3 separate regions of the Homo sapiens genome follow, and all the other regions are linked to region 1. The links are contacts of gene promoters, found by promoter capture Hi-C in blood cells and fetal thymus (Javierre and others, 2016). All regions are on one chromosome and are shown on one strand. The core of a region is centred on a gene start or on the middle of the fragment in contact, and the rest is flanking DNA. Distances in the headings are between cores, read along the strand shown. Region 1 holds the start of TRIM56 (tripartite motif containing 56). Region 2 holds the start of ZNHIT1 (zinc finger HIT-type containing 1). Region 3 overlaps LNCPRESS1 (lncRNA p53 regulated and ESC associated 1).

Region 1 (3,424 bases), core at 228-2,727:
AGGTCAGGCTCCCTTCTGTCCTCTCGGCTGCTGCCAGAGTGAGCTCTTACAGCTTCAGTTTCCTACTTAAATTCCGCCATGTGGATAAAAAGGTACAAACATGCATAGGTATGTCATGAATTAATTACGGTAAAATGATAATTGTAGAACAGAAGTGGTGGAGATATGGGTGTTCACCGCAATTCTTTCAACTTCTTTGTGCTTTGAATTTTTCATAAAATGAGGCTGTGCATGTTGGCTCACGCCTGTAATCCCAGCACTTTGGGAGGCCAAGGTGGGTGGATCACTTGAGGTCAGAAGTTCGAGACCAGCCTGGCCAACATAGTGAAACCCCATCTCTACTAAAAATACAAAAATTAGCTGGGCGTGGCAGTGAGTGCCCGTAATCCCAGCTACTTTGGAGGCTGAGGCAGGAGGATCGCTTGAACCCGGGAAGCGGAGGTTGCTGTGAGCTAAGATCACACCACTGCACTCCAGCCTGGGCGACAGAGCGAGGCTTTGTCTCAAAATAAAAATTATTTTTTCATGAAATGTTGAGGGAAATCTCCTGCAATGATTCTTTTGTCTTTTTTGATAAAATGCAGGCTTCTCTGCCAACACTCTCGTATCCTCTCCACACACATCATCCTAAATGGGGATGTACCCTTGCTGCTCCCAGTACCTGGAACAGGAACATTCTTCTCAGTGTTCTCCAGCCCTCTATGCCCTCTTACTGTTTTATTTTTTAGACAGGGTCTTGCTCTGTCATCCAGGCTGGAGTGCAGTGTCACCATCATGGCTCACTGCAGCCTCGACCTCCCAGGTTCAAGTGATTCTCCTGCCTCAGTCTCCTGAGTATCTGGGATTACAGGTATGCGCTACCATGCACGGCTAGCGAATTTTTTATGGAGACTGGGTCTCACCATATTGCCCAAGCTGGTCTTGAACTCCTGGGCTGAAGCAATCCTCCCGCCTTCTTTAAACTCATCTCATTGATGCCTTCTCCAGGAAGCCTGTGCTGTTCCCTCAGCAAGAGGCTTCTTACCTGATCCCCCACAGCCTCTCCTACAGCTCAGCAACGGTTTATGGAATGAAAGGCCTCTCTTGAAGCTTTGCAGGCACCTGCCTGCCTGAGGTGTTAGCAAATCTGCAGACCCGCCCTGAGGCCATGTGTCTAGTTACCCTGGTCTCTGAATCACAGATGAGCTCTCATTTCTTCCCACAAATAAACCCTGTGACCCTCCACCCTCTACTCAGAGAACCCGCCCTCAGGTAGTTCCCTGTTTGTGACATACACACACTTAGCCCTGAGGCTGGACTGACAGGCCGACCTGGCTGGTGGACTCCAGCCCAAGCCTGCCAGCTGCCTGCCGGGGTGGGGGCCTTGGCGGGAGAGGACGGGGCCGGGTGGGGAGGAAGGCGGGGCCTGAGGCTGTGCGAGGCGAGTCGGTGTGTCCCTGGCTGGGACGGAAGTTGCACCACAAGTACAATTAGTTTCAGTTTTGTTTCTTTTCCAGGCACCCAGCAACGGCGGCCTCCAGGCCTCAGGCCCCCTCACCATCCTAGAGGTCAAGATCAGCTCTGGCTAGGTAAGGGGTGGGGGGCGGCACAGCTATAGGAAGGACCGAGCGGAGGGAGTAGGGGGAGGGGAGTGGAGAGAGAGCGCGGGAGGAGGAGGAAGGGAAGGAAAGGGAGGGCGTGAAGAGGCACCCGGAAGGCAGGAGGAGAGGGCAGGAGGGAAACTGCACTCGCCTCCCTCCCGCTCCGTGGCCACAGGTCCCCGCAAGAAAGACCCCGTCCCACTCTCTGAGGTCTCCTCCCAGCTCCAGAAAAGGGGACATTCCACCTAGTCTGCCCAACAAGTAGGTCTCAGCCACTGTGCCAGGAGCTCGGGACTCCCTCCCTCCAGAGGTTTCTGGAATGCATTCAGCAGGAAAAGCTAAAAGAACAGGACTCCAGGAGATAAGCCAAGGCCAAGTCTATCAGAGGGTGAGCCAGCAGCGGGAAGGGGACCAGCCCTTCCCCTAGCGTTTTTTCTGCCCGCTCCAGAATCCGCTTTAGAAACTGTTAAATGCAGAAAGTGGGGCCTCCACCACCCGCGATGCTGCCCCAGGTCTAGCAGAAGACAGGTGTAAGGCCAGGCGGGTGCGGTGGCTCATGCCTGTAATCCTAATGCTTTGGGAAGGCCGAGACGGGAGGATAGCCTGAGGCCAGGAGTTGGAGACCAGCCTGGGCAACATAGCAAGACCCCATCTCTACAAAAAGTGATAATTTTTAAAAAATGGGCTGGCTGGGCCCCTGGGCATGGTGGCTCACGCCTATAATCCCAGCACTTTGGGAGACCGAGGAGGGCGGATCACCTGAGGTCAGGAGTTCAAGACCAGCCTGGCCAATAGGGCCAAACTCCATTTCTACTAAACATACAAAAATTAGCCGGGTGTGATGGTGCGCACCTGTAATCACAGCTACTCGGGAGGCTGAGGCAGGAGAATCACTTGAACCTGGCAGGTGGAGGTGGCAGTGAGCCAAGATCGCACCACTGCACTCCAGCCTGGGCAACAGAGTGAGACTCTGTCTCAAAAAAAAAAAAAAAAAAAAAAAAGGCTGGGCATGGTGGCACATGCCTGTACTCCCAACTACTCAAAAGACTTGAGTCTAGGAGTTTGAGGCTGCAGTGAACTACGATCACGCCACTGCACTCCAGCCTGGGTGACAGAGGGTGACCCTATTGCTAAAAACTAAAATAAAATAAAAAGAAGGCAGGTGTATGGGGCTTGGAGGATTAAAGCCCCCTAAGCTACTGCAAGATCCTACCCCAACTGGCAGGACCTAGGCATCTCTGCCCACTGGGATCCCCGTCTGTGTCCTTACTGCCTGCTCCTCGCACCCTGGCACCCTATACAGCAGGACCCCAGTACCTGTGCACACAGGAGGGCTTCCACCATGTTTGCCACAAGGCCTGTGGACTGGGGACACTGAGGATTCGATTATTAGCTAAGGCCAGGGACTCCTGGTCTTGTCAGTTCTCACAGGTCTGACCCAACAAGTAGCACTGACATTTTTACGTTTGCTGGATGTACACACGGAAGTGGAGGAGGAGGAGGAGAAGGAGGAGGGCAGCTCCTTAGCTCAAGAGCAAGTGGCCCAAGGCCTCAGAAGACTAGAAGGAAGTTCCTGGCCATTCAGGTGAGACCTCAGGTTCCTTCCCGGCCATTTGGGTCAGCCCCTAGCCCTGGGGATCCGTGGGGCTTGAGGACGGGCGGTAGAAGCTAGAGGGTGAGCTGGTGAAGGTGCCTTCTCAACTCTGATCCTGACGCCTCTGCCTGCAGCATGGTTTCCCACGGGTCCTCGCCCTCCCTCCTGGAGGCCCTGAGCAGCGACTTCCTGGCCTGTAAAATCTGCCTGGAGCAGCTGCGGGCACCCAAGACACTGCCCTGCCTGCATA
Region 2 (3,379 bases), core at 607-3,106, 130 kb after region 1:
GCCAGAATCACGTCGTAGCTGGGTGAGGAAGGGGAGGATGGGCAGGGGTCCACTGGGAACCTCAGCATCCTTACCCCGCTCCCTATCCCCAGCCCCGTTACCTATCCACAAACATGATGATCATATCCTCCCGGTCAGCGTATTTCTCCATTTCCTTCTTTAACCACCGGACCTTCTGTCCTCCACCAACTGTTCGAGCCACATCACCCCCTCGCCACTCCTCTCCCAGGCCCAGGGTCTGTGGAGAAGATTGCCCCGTGCCAGGCAAGGGGTGGGGAGTTGTGGGGGGAACTCCTGACCAGGCTTACCGTGGGGACCTGGGCATCCAGACTTCAGCCCACCCCTCCTGCTGGGACCCCCTCCCAGGGGCCTTTCCCTCTCCTCACCCGCACAGTGTAGTTGAAGAACTCCGCAGAGCGCAGGAAACGCAGGTACCCCTCGGTTTCAGCTGTGGCCACAGTGATCACCAGCAGCTTCTCTGTTACCAGAGGGAAATGGCACTTGAGATCCACCGCCCAGCTCCGGGCCTCACGTGCTTTGCTGTCCTCCCTCTCACTCGACTTCCCTCCCTTTCTTCCTTCCCATTCTTAAACTCTTCTCACCCAGGAACACTCTGACCCCAAGGAGGGCAGGGTGGGAGTGGTGCCCAGGAATTCCGAGTCCCTTTGCATAGGGAGGCTGGAAACCCCAGTTCAGGGTAGTGATGGGCGAGGGGCTTGGCGCGACTCAGCCTCAAGAGCACGCTGGGCGGGGGACGGGCCAGACACCTCCTCGAGCCTCCGACCCTCTCCGGGCCAGGCTGGCAGGCACGCCAGCCTCTGCCCCCTCGGCCGTGCCGGGCCTCCCCGGGATCTCACCTGGGTTGACCGGGTCTCGGCCCCGGGGCCGGTCGGAGGCTGAGGCCGCAGGGGGCAGCAGCAGCGGCAGCAGCAGCAGGAACCGGGGTCCAGGCCCCGAGGAGGTCATGGTGGGGAGCGGGCCCAGACAGCACCCAGGATCCTGGGATCTCCGCTACGCGCCTGGATCCCAGCTCCGGAGGGGAGCTCTGGAAAGGGGGCGCTCGGGCTGCTGTGCGGCCGCCGCGGGGAGCAGCTTGGCTGGGGCTACGCCCTGAAAAAAAGGCGTATCCGGAGGCTACAGAAAGCTCCAGATGCCGGCGCCACAGACAAGGCGAGGATTGTCCCGGGCGCACGGGAGGCGGGGGAGGGGCGGCGGCTCGGGCCGGCGGGCGGGAGACAGGGACTCTGGGCTGAGCCAGCCGCTTGACACATGTGGAAGCTGAAACCTGGACAGGGGAAGTGACCCCTGGCGGAGGGTCGGGCGGGACGCGGGGGCGGGTCCTGGCCGCAGCCCTGCCCAGAGAGTGCGGGCGGAAGACGGGGAGAGCGAGAGGCTGGCGGCGACAGGGAGGGAGGAAGCCTAGGAGTCCGCCGCGGGACGGAGGCCTGGGGGAACTGGGAGTTCAGCTTTCTGCAGAGGGCCACTAGGAACCTCGGATTGCCCACGGAAGCCAGCCACTTTCTTTGACAGTCCAGCCCACCTCCTCTTCTGCCCGGAGAAGCTCCAGGGGCTGCCTTTGTGATCACAGCATCTTCACAAGGACCAAAGGAAAATAAGATTTCTTGTAAGAACACCGTGACCACATCTTTAAAATGACCCATTTCGTGGCTCCCACAAGATTTACACCTCCACACTGAGGCCGGAAGTGGTTTTGCCCCTATAAAACATGGCGAAAAGCTTTCTTGTCTCCAAGGAAACGCCACGTAATGAGTCAAAGCTGTGGCGCACGCGCAGAAGTACAAGCTACCGGAAGTGATGGCGCCCCTACTAAAGCCTTGGGGTTAGTACGCGTGCGCAGCAGTTTCTTCCGACAGTTGTGTTGTGCCAATGGTGGAGAAGAAAACTTCGGGTATGTGAGCCCCCGCGGTTCGCCCCCTTCCCCTTCCCAAGTCAGTCCTAGAATTTTCTTACCTAGTCATTCCTCTTTTTTGGTCTCGCTCTTTCGCCTAGGCTGGAGTGCAGTGGCATAGTCATAGCTCACTGCAGCCTCGATTTCCTGGGATCAAACCATCCTCCCACCTCAGCCTCCGGAGTGGCTGGAACTGCAAGCATGAGGCCCCACGCCTGGTTAATTTTTAATTTGTTATGTGGTGACGGGCTCTCGCTATGTTGCCCAGGTTGGTCTCCAACTCTTGGCCTCAAAGCGATCCTCCTGCGTGGGCCTTCCAAAGTGCTGGGATTACAGGCGTGAGCTGCCGCGCCCGGCCCCAGCTATTCCTCGTAAATCCCTTCCTCAGCCCTCGGGTCCTGGCGTTGACCCTTCATTCACGTTTTATTGGTGCCTGCTCCAAGCCGGGCGCTGGGGATGAAGAGGAGAAAGACCCCTCTTATCCAAGCATTGGCTTTTTCTGGAAGGGGGGCAGAAACGCAGACCTAACACTGTATTTTACTGTGATTTGTGATTTGTGCTATGGCAGAGGGAAGCACAGCGCCTGGGAACAGGGAGACGTGGCATCTAGCCCAGGTTCTGGGAGGCAGGGGACTGTGAAAGCTTGAAGGAAAAATGAAAAAGCTTGAATTGAGTCTTGAAAGTCTAGTTAGGGTTTCTCTCAGTGGGAACCTCACGTGCAAAGGCAGTGAAGCAAGAAAAAGCAAGTCGCTTAGGAAGCCAAGTTCACAGTTTGGATCTTACAGAGTAATAAGAAAGGATCGAAGGCTGGGGAAAGGTTACATTTTGAAAGGCATTATACACACTGCCCAGGAGTTTGAACTCTGTAGGGAAACACTGGAGAGCCAGCAAAGACTTTTTTTTTTTAGACAGAGTCTTGCTCTGTCACCCAGGCTGGAATGCAGTGGTTCTATATAACTCACTGCAGCCTCAACCTCCCATGCTCAAGTGATTCTTCCACCTCAGCCACCTGAGTAGGTGGAACTACAGGTGGGTGCAGGCCACCATGCTGGGCTAGTTTTTATATTTTTTGTTGAGATGGGTGTCTCACTATGTTGCCCAGGCTGGTCTTGAACTCCTGAGCTCATGTGATCCTCCTGCCTCGGCCTTCCAAAATGCTAGGATTACAAGTATGAGCCACTGCGCTTGGCCCTTTTAGTTTTTCTTTCTTTCTTTTTTTTTCTTTTTGAGACGGAGTCTTGCTCTGTCCCCCAGGCTGGAGTGCAGTGGCGCAATCTCGGTTCACTGCAAGCTCTGCCTCCCGGGTTCACACCATTCTCTGGCCTCAGCTTCTGGAGTAGCTGGGACTACAGGCGCCCGCCACCACACCCAGCTTATCTTTTGTATTTTTAGTAGAGACAGGGTTTCACCATGTTAGCCAGGATGGTCTTGATCTCCTGACCTCGTGATCCACCCGCCTCGGCCCCCCAA
Region 3 (3,517 bases), core at 318-2,817, 220 kb after region 1:
TAAAATCTGAAGCATTTTTCTCACTTTAAAGATTCATGGGTTGTACTCTGGCCATTAATGTGAACAAAACCTGCTGGGTTAGTTCTTATTCTGGGGTCTTGGGTAATCGTTAGAGCGAAATAAAAATAATTTCCCTTAGAGATGGTCGATTTTGCAAGATTAGTTATCATCCAGCAGTTAGGTAAAGATGATCTGATTCAGTTACTGAATCTGATCAGTACTGAATTCAGTAGGCACAGTAATCCTAACAGGTGAATGTAGCTGAAGTACATTGTCATGGTCAAGAAAAGCCACTCTCTCTAACAGATTGCCCACACAGCTACATGTCAGCCCTCCTCGCTGCAAACCTGACAAACACTGTAGCATTTTATTATTTATTTATTTATTATTTAGAGATGTGGTCTTTCTGTACCCAGGCTGGAATGCAGTAGTGCAATTTCACTGCAGCCTCCATTTTCCGAGCTCATGCAATTATCCAGTCTCAGTCTCCCAAGTAGCTGGGACTACAGGCATGAGCCATGAGGCCTGTCTAATTTTTTTTTTTTTTTTTTTTGGTCGGAGCTTTGCTCTTGTTGCTCAGGCTGGAGTGCAATGGCACGATCATGGCTCACTGCAACCTCCGCCTCCCAGGTTCGTGCCTCAGCCTCCAGATTAGCTGGGATTACAGGCACCCGCCACCACATCCAGCTAGTTTTTGTATTTCTAGTAGACATGGGGTTTCCCAATGTTGGTCAGGCTGGTCTTGAACTCCTGACCTCAGGTGATCCTCCCGCCTGGGCCTCCCAGAGTGCTGGGATTACAGGGGCTGAGCCACCATGCCCAGCCTCCTGGCTAATTTTTGAACCTTTTTGTAGAAACAGGGTTTCACCATGTTGCCTAGTCTGGTCTTGAACTCCTGAACTCAAAGTGGTCTGCCTGCCTCAGCCTCCCAAAGTGCTGTGATTGCAGGAGTGAACCACACTTTGCCAAGCACACCCTAGCATGTTAATTCATCATTCTTTTTTTTTGGAGACGGCGTTTTTGCTTTGCAGGAGCCGAGATCTCGCCACTGCACTCCAGGCTGGGCGACAGAGTTAGAATCCATCTCAAAAAAAAAAAAATTAAAATTAAAAGAAAAAAGCATCCAAAAATGCATACATCAACGTAAAGGATTTTTTTTTTTTTGGTGAGATGGAGTCTCGCTCTTGTCGCCCAGGCAGGAGTGCAGTGGCGCGATCTTGGCTCACTACAACATCCGCCTCCCGGGTTCAAGCGATTCTCGTTACTCAGCCTCCCAAGTAGCTGGGATTACAGGCGCCCGCGACCACGCCCGGCTGATATTTTTATTTTTAGTAGAGACGGGGTTTCCCCATGTTGGCCAGGCTGGTCTCGAACTCCCTACCTCAGGTGATCCACCCGCCTCGGCCTCCCAGAGTGCTGGAATTACAGGCGTGAGCCACCGTGCCCGGCCAAATAGTCTATTTATATTAGCAAACACACCTGTGTGCACACGGAGCTTGCGGACCAGTCTGGAAGGGGAGGGCGGGGCCGACCCGGACCCTCCAGGGAACGCCCTTGAGTAACTCGCGCACTTGGGACCCATTCCCACCTAGGACCATAGGCTCAAGATGGCCTGGTGGATGCCGCCGGCACGCGCCTCTCCTCTGGCGGGAACCGAAGGCGCCGGTAGGTTTTCACACTTGCAGCCGATCGGCTAAGAGAACGCGGGATTCAGCCGAGAAGCCACTGGGAGCCCGAGGAGCGGAGCAGAGGCACCCAGGCAGCCTGCGCGGAGAAATCGGATCGGCTAGGACGGCCTGCAGCCCCTGCGCGCGGGGAAAGGGTGAGTGAGAGACCCCGGGGGCTCCGCAGTCCCCCCACGGACTTCCACAGCCCCCTGACCCTCGTGGACCTCCAGAGTAGGGGGCAGCGGGCGAGAGATTCCCCAGCGGCGTTGCAGGAGCCCACGTGGAGCCCACGGGCTTCCCTGCCCTGAGCAGCTGCAGCTGCAGCCGCCGCCGCCCAGCTGAGGGCCAGGGAGGGAGCGGGGAGGCCAGAGGCTTTCATACGTCCGAAAAGACTAATAACCCCACCGCCACCGCGGGACTCAGACGCGAACCAACCGCTTGCCTGCTCTACCCCGCCTGAGCTTTCCTGGGGACCAGCCCTTCCCTGTCCGTCCTAGCCAGCGACCGAACCCCGGGGCCCTCAGGACAGTCCGCTGGTGGTTCTGCCTCCTGAGGACTTGCGCACGCGGGCCGGAGGCCTGGGGATTGGTGACTATTCTGCCTCTTCCGCCACCGTTGGCGGCTGAACACTCCTCCCCGGTGTCTGAGTTCAGGGGCCCAGCCTGCGGATAACACCTCAGGCTACCTACAGGCCCGGGGACTCGCGTGCCCGCCCAACCTGGTCAGCCACCACCAACACCAGCAGGGACCGCCTGGATTCCGGAGGGTTGCCCCCCCAACTGCAACTACCCTGCCCACATCACACCCACTGCCCCAACGCCTGAGATCAGCCACACCCCCAGCCAGTGGCTGCCACTACCAGCATTAGAGCAGGGCACCTAGAGACACACGAATCACTCCCCACAACCCGCTAATAACAGAGCCAGCATGCACTGCTCTGGGACTAAAGAATAGGTAAGATCAGGCCACCACTGGGGCCCAAATACTGGCCCACCTGGCCGCCTAGTCCCCAGCAACCACAGCCTCCACTAATAACCACACCCTAAGCCACCCAAGAAATCATACAGAGCCTACAGTACTACCCCAAATCAAAGCCAAAGTGCCCCAGCTAACCAACACCCTATCTACATTTTCAGGAAGAAGTCCTCCCCTACAAAGCGAGTTCACAAACTTGGAAGAAGCCACTTTCACAGGATGCACAGATCTCAACGGAAGGACACAGAAAACATGAAAAAGCAAGGAAATGGGGCGCCTCCAACGGAACCCAGTAATTCTCCAGCAGCAGATCCCCATCCAAAAGAAACAGAAGACATTTTGGAGAGAGAATTGAATATACATATTATACAGTTGTGGGCATAATACAAGCATCATTTGGAAAAGAACAGAGAAAAAAGATGGAAGGAGTTACCGTACTGCAGGAAAAAATTATCAACTCCAGTGATATTATTAAATACAACCTAACGACACTTCTGAAGCTGAAGAAATCACTGGATGAAATACAAAGTAAACTCAAAAGCTTCAGTGATAGACTAGAACAAGAAGAAGAAAGACTCTCAAAACTTGAAATCTGAAGCATGTTTCTTAAAGATTTAAAGGGTTATTATACTCTGGCCATTAATGTGAACGAAATCTGCTGGGTTAATTCTTATACTGGGGTCTTGGATAATCATTAAAGTGAAATGAGAATAATTTCTTTTTGAGATGATCAATTTTATGAGGTCGATTTTTTTTTTTTTTTTTTAATGAGACTGAGTCTTGCTCTGTCGCCCAGGCTGGAGTGCAGTGGCATGATTTCGGTTCACTGCAACCTCCGTCTCCCAGGTTCAAGAGATTCTCCTGCCTTAGCCTCC

The links. The method cuts DNA at HindIII sites, captures the fragments that hold promoters and counts their contacts. A CHiCAGO score of 5 or more calls a contact.
Region 2: the fragment with the promoter of ZNHIT1 here is called in contact with the fragment with the promoter of TRIM56 in region 1 in 1 of 17 cell types (megakaryocytes); the score reaches 5.8 in megakaryocytes.
Region 3: a fragment that was not itself captured here is called in contact with the fragment with the promoter of TRIM56 in region 1 in 1 of 17 cell types (M0 macrophages); the score reaches 6.8 in M0 macrophages.

The regions. Positions count from the first base shown.
Region 1 is chr7:101,084,004-101,087,427 of GRCh38, forward strand. It overlaps TRIM56 (tripartite motif containing 56), which reads left to right and starts at 1,478. Exons shown (of 3, transcript NM_030961.3): 1 at 1,478-1,568; 2 at 3,003-3,165; 3 at 3,309-3,424. The coding sequence starts at 3,310. RefSeq lists enhancers at 1-335, 1,039-1,088, 3,170-3,424. The HindIII fragment of the contact is 9,878 bases long and covers 1,088-3,424 here.
Region 2 is chr7:101,216,309-101,219,687 of GRCh38, forward strand. It overlaps ZNHIT1 (zinc finger HIT-type containing 1), which reads left to right and starts at 1,857. Exons shown (of 5, transcript NM_006349.3): 1 at 1,857-1,909. The coding sequence starts at 1,888. It overlaps PLOD3 (procollagen-lysine,2-oxoglutarate 5-dioxygenase 3), which reads right to left and starts at 1,273. Exons shown (of 19, transcript NM_001084.5): 1 at 858-1,273; 2 at 387-478; 3 at 102-238; 4 at 1-18. The coding sequence starts at 966. RefSeq lists enhancers at 379-901, 1,450-1,569, 1,663-2,204 and silencers at 700-819, 880-929, 1,070-1,349. The HindIII fragment of the contact is 814 bases long and covers 1,736-2,549 here.
Region 3 is chr7:101,301,207-101,304,723 of GRCh38, forward strand. It overlaps LNCPRESS1 (lncRNA p53 regulated and ESC associated 1), which reads left to right. Exons shown (of 2, transcript NR_146480.1): 2 at 1-140. Among named protein-coding and RNA genes, the nearest start is that of LNCPRESS1, 3.4 kb to the left of the region's middle. RefSeq lists enhancers at 901-1,602, 1,603-2,305. The HindIII fragment of the contact is 3,228 bases long and covers 1-3,181 here.